2 separate regions of the Homo sapiens genome follow, and region 1 is linked to region 2. The links are contacts of gene promoters, found by promoter capture Hi-C in human tissues and cell types (Jung and others, 2019). All regions are on one chromosome and are shown on one strand. The core of a region is centred on a gene start or on the middle of the fragment in contact, and the rest is flanking DNA. Distances in the headings are between cores, read along the strand shown.

The links. The method cuts DNA at HindIII sites, captures the fragments that hold promoters and counts their contacts. A contact is called where the count stands out against the background at its distance.
Region 1: a contact is called between a fragment that was not itself captured here and the fragment with the promoter of IAH1 in region 2, in 2 of the 25 tissues and cell types used here (aorta and bladder).

What each region holds. Positions count from the first base shown.
Region 1 is chr2:10,114,112-10,119,515 of GRCh38, forward strand. No RefSeq gene overlaps it. Among named protein-coding and RNA genes, the nearest start is that of RRM2, 5.9 kb to the right of the region's middle. The HindIII fragment of the contact is 3,706 bases long and covers 1,062-4,767 here.
Region 2 is chr2:9,470,966-9,476,084 of GRCh38, forward strand. It overlaps IAH1 (isoamyl acetate hydrolyzing esterase 1 (putative)), which reads left to right and starts at 3,586. Exons shown (of 6, transcript NM_001039613.3): 1 at 3,586-3,682; 2 at 5,022-5,074. The coding sequence starts at 3,602. It overlaps CPSF3 (cleavage and polyadenylation specific factor 3), which reads left to right. Exons shown (of 18, transcript NM_016207.4): 17 at 378-474; 18 at 1,951-2,136. The coding sequence ends at 2,052. RefSeq lists a silencer at 3,358-4,127 and enhancers at 3,397-4,164, 4,645-5,119. The HindIII fragment of the contact is 18,322 bases long and covers 1-5,119 here.

The DNA.
Region 1 (5,404 bases), core at 1,665-4,164, 640 kb after region 2:
TGAGGCCTGGTGCAGCCGAATAATAACTTTTTAATTCCAAAGAATATTTGAAAAGAGACAAAAACTGGGCGCAGTGACTCACATCTGTAATCCCAGCACTTTGGGAGGCCGAGGCAGACAGATCACTGAAGGTCAGGAGTTCGAGACCAGCCTGGCCAACATGGTGAAACCCTGTCTCTACTAAAAATACAAAAACTAGCCGGGCGTGGTGGCAGGCACCTGTAATCCCAGCTACTCAGGAGGCTGAGGCAAGAGAATTGCTTGAACCCGGGAGGCAGAGGTTGCAGTGAGCCGAGATCGCGTCACTGCACTCCAGCCTGGGTGACAGAGCAAGACTCCATCTCAAAAAGAAAAGAAAAGAGACAAAAGAACACAAAACAGGTGGGTAAGTAGAAAACAAGTACTAATATAGTAGATGTAAACCAAATATATAAGTAATTACATTCAATGTAGATGGTGTGATGGCTGGAGGATTGCTTGAGCCCAGGAGTTCGAGGCTGCAGTGAGCTACGATCGTGCCACTGCACTTGAGTCCAGGAGACAGAGTGAGATCCTGTCTCTAAATAATAATAATGATAATAAAGTAAAATAAAAATGAGCATAAAGATTGGATAGGAAGACGTAAAACTGTCATTCTTTACAGGCACCATGACTGTGAATGAAGAAAACATAAAGGAGTCCACAGATAAACCAAATTAATTACAAATTGATCAAGGTTGTAGGATTTAAGGTTAATAATATGAAAAACAATGTCTATATATATCAGTGCATAAATTTAGAAAATAAAAAAGTTAAATGATACTACTTATCATAGAATAAGAAATAATAAATATCCAGGAGAAAAATTTTTTAAATGTGCAAGACCGCTATATAGGAAGCTACAAAAAAAAGTACTGAAAAAAATTAAGGACAACATAAATAAATGGAGGGATATACCGTGGCCATGGATTAGAAGACTCAATATCATAAAGATGTCAGTTCTCCTAAAATTCATCTAATGATTCTAACAATGTAATCTGAATGAAAAGATATTCAAAATGAAAATCAAAGCACATGGAGATGAAAAGTTTTAACATTCTAAATAAACCAGATCTAGGTAATAAAGGAAATCAAAACCCACATCTCAGACTATTTAAAAAATGCAAAAGTGAGATCACTATCCATTAAAACCTGTGGGATTTGCCAAAACCGTACTCAAAAGAAAATGTAACAGCGGCCGGGTGCGGTGGCTCTTGCCTGTAATCCCAGCACTTTGGGAAGCTGAGGCACGTGTATCACTGAAGGTCAGGAGTTTGAGACCAACCTGGCCAACATGGTGGAATTCCTTCTCTATTAAAAATACAAAAATTAGCTGGGTATGGTGGTGGGTGCCTTTAATCCCAGCTACTCGGGAGGCTGAGGCAGGAGAATTGCTTGAACCCAGGAGGTGGAAGTTGCAGTGAGCCAAGATGGCGCCACTACACTCCAGCCTGGGCGACAGAGAGACTCTGTCTCAAAAAAAAAGAAAAAAAAAAGAAGTAAACCCAACCAATATTTGAGAGGGGATAAGCAAAGAAATTAATTAGTTAGAAAGCAAGATGTGAGCAAGGGCCTGGTGACATGCATGTGTGATCACAGCTACTTGGGAGGCTGAGGTGGGAGGATCACTTGAACCCACGAGTTCGAGTCCAGCCTGGGCAACGTAGTGAGATCCCAACTCAAAAAAAGTAAATAAAACAAGAAAGCAAAATACACAGATGTCCCACACCAGGTGAACAGCCATCCAAGGAAATGCACACTACTCAGCAATAAACAGGAAGAAACTGTTGATACATTCAACAACTTGGATGAATCTCAAGGGCATTATTTCTAGTTAAAAAAAGCCAGTTAATCTCAAAGGGTTCCACATTATATGATTCCATTTATAGAATATTATCTAAGACAAATTACAGTGATAGAGACCAGATTAGTGGTTGCCGGGAGTTAAGGCTAGGGTGTTAACAATTAGGAGCAACACAGGGATCTTCTTTGTGGTGATGGAACAGTTCTGTATCCTGATTTGGTGATGGTTATTCAAATCTACACGTGATAAAATTTCAAAGAACCATGTACACATACACCTATACATGACTGCATGTAGAAACCAGTGAAATCCAAACAAGGTTAGTAATTTAATTACTGTCAACTTCCTGATTTTGACAATGTACTATGGTTATGTAAGATATTGAGTAACCTGGATGAGTAACTTTACCATTTTTGCAACTTCTGTGTGTCTTAAACTACCTCAAAATAAAGCTTAATACTTTTTTAAAAAAGAAAAAAAAAGACATAAATGGAATATTAGGAAACTAAAACTGCAACATATATAATAGAAAGAAATACTGTCCAAATCATATAAAGCCCCTATAAATCAATAAGAAAGTGATAAATGACCCAATCAATAAATGGACAAAGCCCAGGCACAGTGGCTTAGGCCTGTAATGTCAGCGTTTTGGGAGGCTGAGGCTAGAGGATCACTTAAGGCCAAGAGTTCAAGACCAGCCTGGGACCCATAGTGAGACCCTGTCTCTATAATAAAAGAAAATGAGCCGGGCGTGGTGGTGTGCACCTGCAGTCCTAGCTACTTGGGAGGCTGAGGTGGGAGGATTGCTTAAATCCAGGAGTTGAAGGTTGTAGTGAGCCATTATTGCACCACTGCACTCCAGACCAGGTGACAGAGCAAGACCCTGTTTCTTTTTTTTTTTCAGATGGAGTTTTGCTCTTGTTGCCCAGGCTGGAGTGCAATGGCACGATCTTGGCTCACCGCAACTTCCGCCTCCCGGGTTCAAGCAATTCTCCTGCCTCAGCCTCCCAAGTAGCTAGGATTACAGGCATGTGCCACCACACGTGGCTAATTTTGTAATTTTTTTAGTAGAGACGGGGTTTCTCCATGTTGGTCAGGCTGTTCTGGAACTCCTGACCTCAGGTGATCCGCCCGCCTCGGCCTCCGAAAGTGTTGGGATTACAGGCGTGAGCCACTGTGCCTGGCCAAGACCCTGTTTCTTTTAAAAAAAAAAAAAAGATGTGGCAGACACTAGGAATTTTTATTTTTTATTATTTATTTATTTATTTATTTATTTTGAGACAGAGTCTCACTCTGTTGCCCAGGCTGGAGTGCAGTGGTGCAATCTTGGCAAGCTCCGCCTCCCGGATTCTCGCCATTATCCTGCCACAGCCTCCCGAGTAGCTGGGACCACAGGCGCCTGCTGCCACGCCCGGCTAATTTTTTTGTATTTTTAGTAGAGACGGGGTTTCACCGTGTTAGCCAGGATGGTCTCAATCTCCTGACTTTGTGATCTGCCCACCTCGGCCTCCCAAAGTGCTGGGATTACAGGCGTGAGCCACTGCGCCTGGCCAGACTAGGAATTTTTAAATAAGCATAACAAACATACTGAAATCTGTGGATTCTAAATTCTAAGAGTTAAAAGCACATAGTTGTGGTTTTTATTTTTATTTATTTTGAGATAGCATCTTGCTCTGTTGCCCAGGTTGGAATGCAGTGGCGTGATCACGGCTCACTGCTGCTTCAACCTCCTGGGCTCAAGCAATACTCCTGCCTCAGCCTCCTAAACAGCTGGGACCAGAGATGCGTGCCACCACAATCAGCTACTTTTTTATTTTTCACAGAGACAAGGTCTATGTTGCCTAGGCTGGTGTTGAACTTCTGGGCTCAAGCCATCCTCCCACCTCAGCCTCCCAAAGTGCTAGGATTACAGGTGTGAGCCACCATGCCGGCCAGTTGTCATTTTAAAGTGCTAATATTTGCAACATGATGGAGATTACATCTCCTGTAACTATTTATGACTAAAAGTTTAAATGTCAGTTTAATTCTTATTTATTTTAGTTTTAGAGACAGGGGTCTTGCTGTGTTGCCCAGGCTGGTTTCAAATACCTGGTCTCAAGCAATTCTCCTTCCTCAGCCTCTGGAGTAGCTGGGAGTATAAGGGTGTGCCACTGTGCCTGGCTAAATGTCTATTTTAAATGTGTGTAAAGTGGCACATAACTGTTCAACATCATTTTAGAGGTTATCTGAGCACGAAGAAAATCATTAATCCCAAAGGCTCTGCACTGTGCTGGCTGCCTCATCCTCACCATCTCCTGAAAATGGCCTCTCAGTGGCTGAAGCTCTCCAATGCGAATGTTCTAGACACAAATGATGTGGTGACACTCACATCAGCATCAAACAGCTCCATCTGGTTGTCCACCCTGCTTCCTGCTTAACCATTTCCTGCTGACTTCTGAGTGAGTGACACATAAACTAACTACAAAGTTGAACTGGGCTGCTCCTGAGACTTGTGGTTGTGGTGCTGCTGTGCTGTGCTACATTAAGAATGTTGGGCTGGGCGCAAGGGCTCATGCCTGTCATCCCAGCACTTTGGGAGGCCGAGGTAGAAGGATAGCTTGAGCCCAGGAGTTTGAGCCCAGCCTGGGCAATATCGTGAGACCTCATCTATATATATATATATATAAATATACGTAATTGGCAGTTCATATTAAAACAAAGTTTTTGAGAGTCTGGAATTCTGGAGTTAGTCAGACCTGGGTTCAAATCCTAGCTATATTATCACGTATGAAGTCTTCTTGCCAATAACTTTTAGCCTTAGGCTAATAACGATCCCCCGCCGGACTTTTTTTTTTTTTTTTGAGACGGAATTTCATTCTTGTTGCCCAGGTTGGAGTGCAATGGTGTGATCTCGGCTCACTGAAACCTCTGCCTCCTGGGTTCAAATGATTCTCCTGCCTCAGCCTCCCAAGTAGCGGGAACCCAAGTAGCGGGAATTACAGGCGCCTGCTGCCACGTCTGGCTAATTTTTGTATTTTTAGTAGAGATGGGGTTTCCCTATATTGACCAGGCTGCTCTCAAACTCCTGACCTCAGGTGATCTGCCTGCCTCACCCTCCCAAAGTGCTGGGATTACAGGCGTGAACCTCCAAGCAGGGCCTAATAAAGCCTTTTGACCTAACTTCCAGTGTAGAGTACAGGGGTCAGGAAAACAAGTTCATTGACACTGTGAATAAACAATTAGGCAAATGTAGAATGTGGGACATTCTACAAGAAAACTGGCCTGTACTTCAAAGTCAATGTCGTGGGGAAAAGAAGTGGAGGAGCTTTACTAAGAGTCTAAAGCAACATAATAAACGCAATGCATGTGATTAATTAGATACTGCACAAAAAAATAAATCCAAAAAACTATGAGACATTTTTGAAACAATTGGAAAAACAGGAATATGGACTGGATATTAGGTTATATTAGAGAATTATTGTTAGTTTTCCTAGGGATAAATGTGGTATTGTGGTGATATTAACAGAGTGTCCTAATTTTTAGGAGCTGAAACGTTTAGGGGTGATGGGTTATGATATCTATCACTCACTTTCAAATGATCCA
Region 2 (5,119 bases), core at 2,336-4,835:
CACTTTGGGAGGCCAAGGCAGGTGGATCACTTGAGGCTAGGAGTTCAAGACCAGCCTGGCCAACATGGTGAAACCCTGACTCTACTAAAAATACAAAAATTAGCTGGCTGTGGTGGTGCACACCTGTAATCCCAGCTACTAGGGAGGCTGAGGCAGGAGAATCACTTGAATCCGGGAGGCGGAGGTTGTAGTGAGCCAAGATTGTGCCACTGCGCTCCAGCCTGGGCCACAGAGCAAGACTCCATCTCAAAAAAAAAAAGAAAAAAAGTAAATACAGTATTCTGCTTTAGAACTAGGACCTATCTTCAGTTTTATTTTTTCCTCAAATATATAAAGCCGGGCATTTTCACTAATCCTGCATTTCTGCTTATTTTCAGGGACATATTTGGAGAAGACTGTGTAAGTGTAAAGGATGACTCTATTCTTAGCGTCACAGTGGACGGGAAAACTGCCAACCTTAACTTGGAGACACGGGTATGTAGCTGCTCTTTCCTACGTTTCAAGACATTTGGGAAATAAAGTGAAGGCATAAATAATCTGTGCTCTCACACTCAACAGTCTACTGTTGCATATTGGCATTTGCTTCCAGTGTTTCCAACATTTTTTTCACATTGTTCTTTTTATATTATTATGGTTGAAGTTTTCCGTGTTTTTCCGGGTTACTGCATAGTACAAGGTTCGCGTGTATGCCACTCCATTGCTGTCCTCTTCCATAATACAGCTTAGTTCACCTCATCCCTTCTCTAGTTTGGCATCTAGTTGACTCTCCATTTTTTAAAGAAGCCGCTCTTCTGTTTGCACCAGCAAGATCCAAGTGGATTTTCCAAACAGTTCAAAACCAGCCCGGGCAACACAGTTAAACCCCATCTCTACTAAAAAATACAAAAAAAATTAGCCGGGAATGGCGGCAGCTGCCTGTAGTCCCAGCTACTCAGGAGGCTGAGGCAGGAGAATTGCTTGAAACAGGGAGGCAGAGGTTGCAGTGAGCCAAGATCACATTACTGCACTCCAGCCTGGATGATAGAGCGAGACTCTGTCTCCAAAAAAAAAAAAAAAAAGAACTAGAGGCCAGGCGTGGTGGTTCACGCCTGTAATCCCAACACTTTGGGAGGTCAAGGTGGGTGGATCATCTGAGGTCAAGAGTTTGAGACCAGCCTGGCCAACATGATGAAACCCCATCTCTACTAAAAATACAAAAATTACCCAGGCGTGGTGGTGTGCCTGTAATCCCAGCTACTTGGGAGGCTAAGGCAGGAGAACCCAGGAATCACCTTAACCCAAGAGACAGAGGTTGCAGTGAGCTGAGATCACATCACTGCACTCCAGCCTGGGCGACAGAGCGAGATTCTGTCTCAAAAAAAAAAAAAAAAAGAAGCAACTAGAAGATTATTAGTGAGTTTCAGTCAAATTCAGTACCAAATGTTGAGTAGATAGCCACATCCATTCCTTGCCAAGTAATTTGTGTGGCATAGATGAACTTCCCTGGAGTATCATTTACTAGATCAAACTGTGGGCTTTGATGTAAATGTAGTTTACTAGACTTTCCCCAGTCTTTCACCCCAGCCTCAAGTCATCACTAATTAGGACCGTGCTGCTGTCAGGAAGCACTGCACGCCCACAAGTGTGTAGGGCGGCCGTTCTGTTTCATGGTAATCAGTCCCACCATGACCTCTGCACACACAGATGATTGTTCTTTTTTTTAGTTTGAGACCCGGTCTCGCAGTGCCGCCCAGGCTGGAGTGCAGTGGTGCAGTCACAGCTCACTGCAGCCTCAACCTTCCCGGCTCAGTGATCCTCCCACCTCAGACTCTTATCTGGGACCACAGGCACACGCCACCACAGCTGGCTAATTTTTTATGAGATGATGGTTTTTTTAAAGAGTATTCATTTATCTTCTATATAATCATTATAGACTTAATTCTAACAGTCTTGTTTGTGCCTCACTTTCAGACTGTAGAATGTGAAGAGGGAAGTGAAGACGATGAATCCCTCCGAGAAATGGTGGAGCTGGCTGCACAGAGACTGTACGAGGCCCTGACGCCAGTTCACTGAGACTGTGCCTGTATATGAACTTTGAAAAAATACTTGACTCTACTTTTGTTACCTAAAATAAAATGCATTCGTTTCTCTGGGGGAGCCTGTTTACTTTTAATGTCAAATGGCCTTTATTTCAACAGCCTGAATACTGCTAAATTGCTAATTAATTTGTCCATTATTCTAGAACTAACTACTAGATCAACTGCCCATTATTTTAGAATTTTGGATTCTTCTTCCAGGCATGTATGTGCAGCTCCCATTGAAACCATCAAGATCTGCCGATAGCAACCGCTGCTGGTTACCCTCTCCTCTGGGGTAACCAATTTGAGTTAATAATAAGGATTCTAAGTTGCACTTGAATCTTTTCTGTCTTCATCTCCACTGCTGCTGTTCGAGTCCAAGTCTACTCTCCCCTCTGAATTCCTGCAACCACCTCCATCTCCTCCCCTATAGCTGATTCCTGGAACAGACCTGGCCTCAAGCCTCTGCTGCTTGAAGGCCTTAATGAAGTCCTTGTGATAAAGATGAAGTCCAGGCACCTTTGCTTGCTCTAGCAGGGGCTCTCAATCTGGGCTACCCGTGGGAATCACGTGGGGTGCATCACAAGTGCACCTGTGCCCAAGTCCTGCCACCAGGAGGTGAGTTAGTCCGGCTGGAATGAGGGCCCTAGGTTGGATCTTAGTTGTAAAGCTCCCCCAGGTGATCCAAGCGAGCTTGGGACGAGCAACCTAAAGAAAGTCATGCTCTACGCCCATCGCCCCGCCCCAGGGAGCGGGGTCGGCCTCTGCGCCGGCGCCCCTGGCCCTTCTGTTACTCATCTACAGCTCCGTGATTTCAAGGCATCCTTCCCACCCGTTCGTTTTTAGCTCGGCTGCCGAACTTCATTGCACAGTTGAGGTAAGAACGTTGCATTACAACCACGTTTTAACAGGTGAATCCCTTGGAAGTTAGTCAGTGCTCCGTGTCCGCGGGGTTCTGCATCTGCGCATCCACCCCACGGCGGGAAAAAGAAAAGCGGCCGGCTGCGCGCGCACTGAAGGTGCAGCTGCTTTCCCTTGTCATTCGCAGAACCACGAGGTACTGCCAGGGTTTCCGCAGTGCCTGCGTCCTCGTGGGTGTTACAGGCCCTCCAGAGTGACGCTGGGCGCAGGAGGCCGCGCGCGCATCCCACGACCTCTTCCAGGGGGGCCTGGAGCAGCCCTCCGCCCCACCGAGAGCCAGCTGTGCTTCCCGCCGCGCGTCCTGAGGTCACACTCCTGCCCTTTGCCGAACGCACCTGCGCCCGCGGAGCGCGGGGTGGGCTTAGAAGGGCCCCCAACCGCTTTTCTTCCGGGAACCACGCAGCGGGACGCGGGCTCCGGACTCCCTGGGGGCAGCCTTGCTGTGGGTGAGCAAGCGCGGAGGCCGAGCTTCTTGCAAACGGACTCCAAGGGGCAACGACCTTCGCGCGTCACCAAAGTGACTGCGTGGGTGCCCACGAGCCCGGCTCCCGCAACCCACGGGCGGCCACTGCGCAGGCGCCTCTCGTGGCTGGCGGCCCCGCCCCGCCCCGCCCGGCTGCTCCATGGCGCTGTGCGAGGCCGCGGGCTGCGGGAGTGCCCTGCTCTGGCCTCGCTTGTTGCTCTTCGGGGACTCCATCACCCAGGTACGGCCGCCCCGACGCTCGGCCTCCCGCCCCGGCCTCCCTGCGGGGTCGCTGCCGAGCAGGCCGAGGCTCCTCGCCGTCCTCTTCGGCGCCCGAGACGGCTGGGCCGGAGGCCTGGCCACGCCCGTGGAGACACCGGAGGAGTGGCGGGTCCCCCAGTGGCTGCGCCTTCCGGGCCCGCGGCGTCCCGGAGGTCACGACGGCGTCCGCGAGAGCCCGGGCTCCAGGCACAGACGCGAGGGGACCCGGCCGCGCTGCCCGCCCCGCGCCGCCTCCCACCCGGGTCGAGATGCGCGGTCTTCCCCTCAGCGCCCTCCTGGGCAGCGGCCTTTCCCCTCCGGGTCCGGGTTAGCGGCCGCGGGCGACCGCGCGCTGTGTCCCAGGAGGCCCCGCGGCCAGCTCCGGGCAGAGGCGCCAGGAGCTCTCTCGCCCCATTCCCTGCGGGCACAGGTGGGGCCGTTAGGGGTTGACCTTGGAAGTAAAACGCCTTCAGGAATTAGGTAGAAAAGGACCATCCGTTCATCCAAGATCATCTCACCTCCCATGAAGGGAACGGTCTTCTAAATGCAGGTTCTTACTTCGGGGAGGGAGTAGAAATTCCATTCCTGTGTGTGTCCTCTTCTCAGACAGGACTTGCTTCACCAGGCTTTTGTGTATACGCCAGTAACTGGTAACATTATGTTTAGGCATATGGGGCAGTCAGAGCTGCCGAATTCCATGGGAATGTGTATGAAAAAGTGTTCACCCTCAGCTCGGTAACCAGCAAAGCAGTGAGGCGGTGTGGCCTTCATTTCCTCACTGACCTTTGACTTTATTTCCTGAACTTAGATTTCTGTTTAGCTTTTTTTTTTTTTTCTTTTTTTCTTTTTTTGAGACGGAGTCTCGCTCTGTCGCCCAGACTGGAGTGCAGTAGCGCGATCTCGGCTCACTGCAAGCTCCGCCTCCCGGATTCAAGCGTTTCTCCTGCCTCAGCCTCCCGAGTAGCTGGGATTATAGACGTGCGCCACCACACCGGGCTAATTTTTGTAATTTTAGTAGAGACGGGGTTTCGCCATGTTGACCAGGCTGGTCTCGAACTCGAGACCTCATGTGATCCGCCCGCCTTGGCCTCCCAAAGTGCTGGGAATACAGGCTGTTTAGCTTTTGATAGAGAAAAATCCCCCTCTGCTAAAGTGCTGCCAGGTGTACTTACCTGTAATCCCCAAAATGACCTCCTGGAGTGAAGCAATCAAAGCCAAGAAGGGAGCGCCGAGAAAACAGAAGTTGCCAATCAGAACTGCCCTCGCTGAGATGCCCGGTTACAGTCATTAGTAGTAATAATGGGCTTTTCTTCCTCCAGTTTTCCTTCCAGCAGGGTGGATGGGGAGCATCGCTGGCTGACAGGCTGGTCAGGTGAGAATGGTTTCCGATACTTGAGTTCTTATGGATGGAAAATGT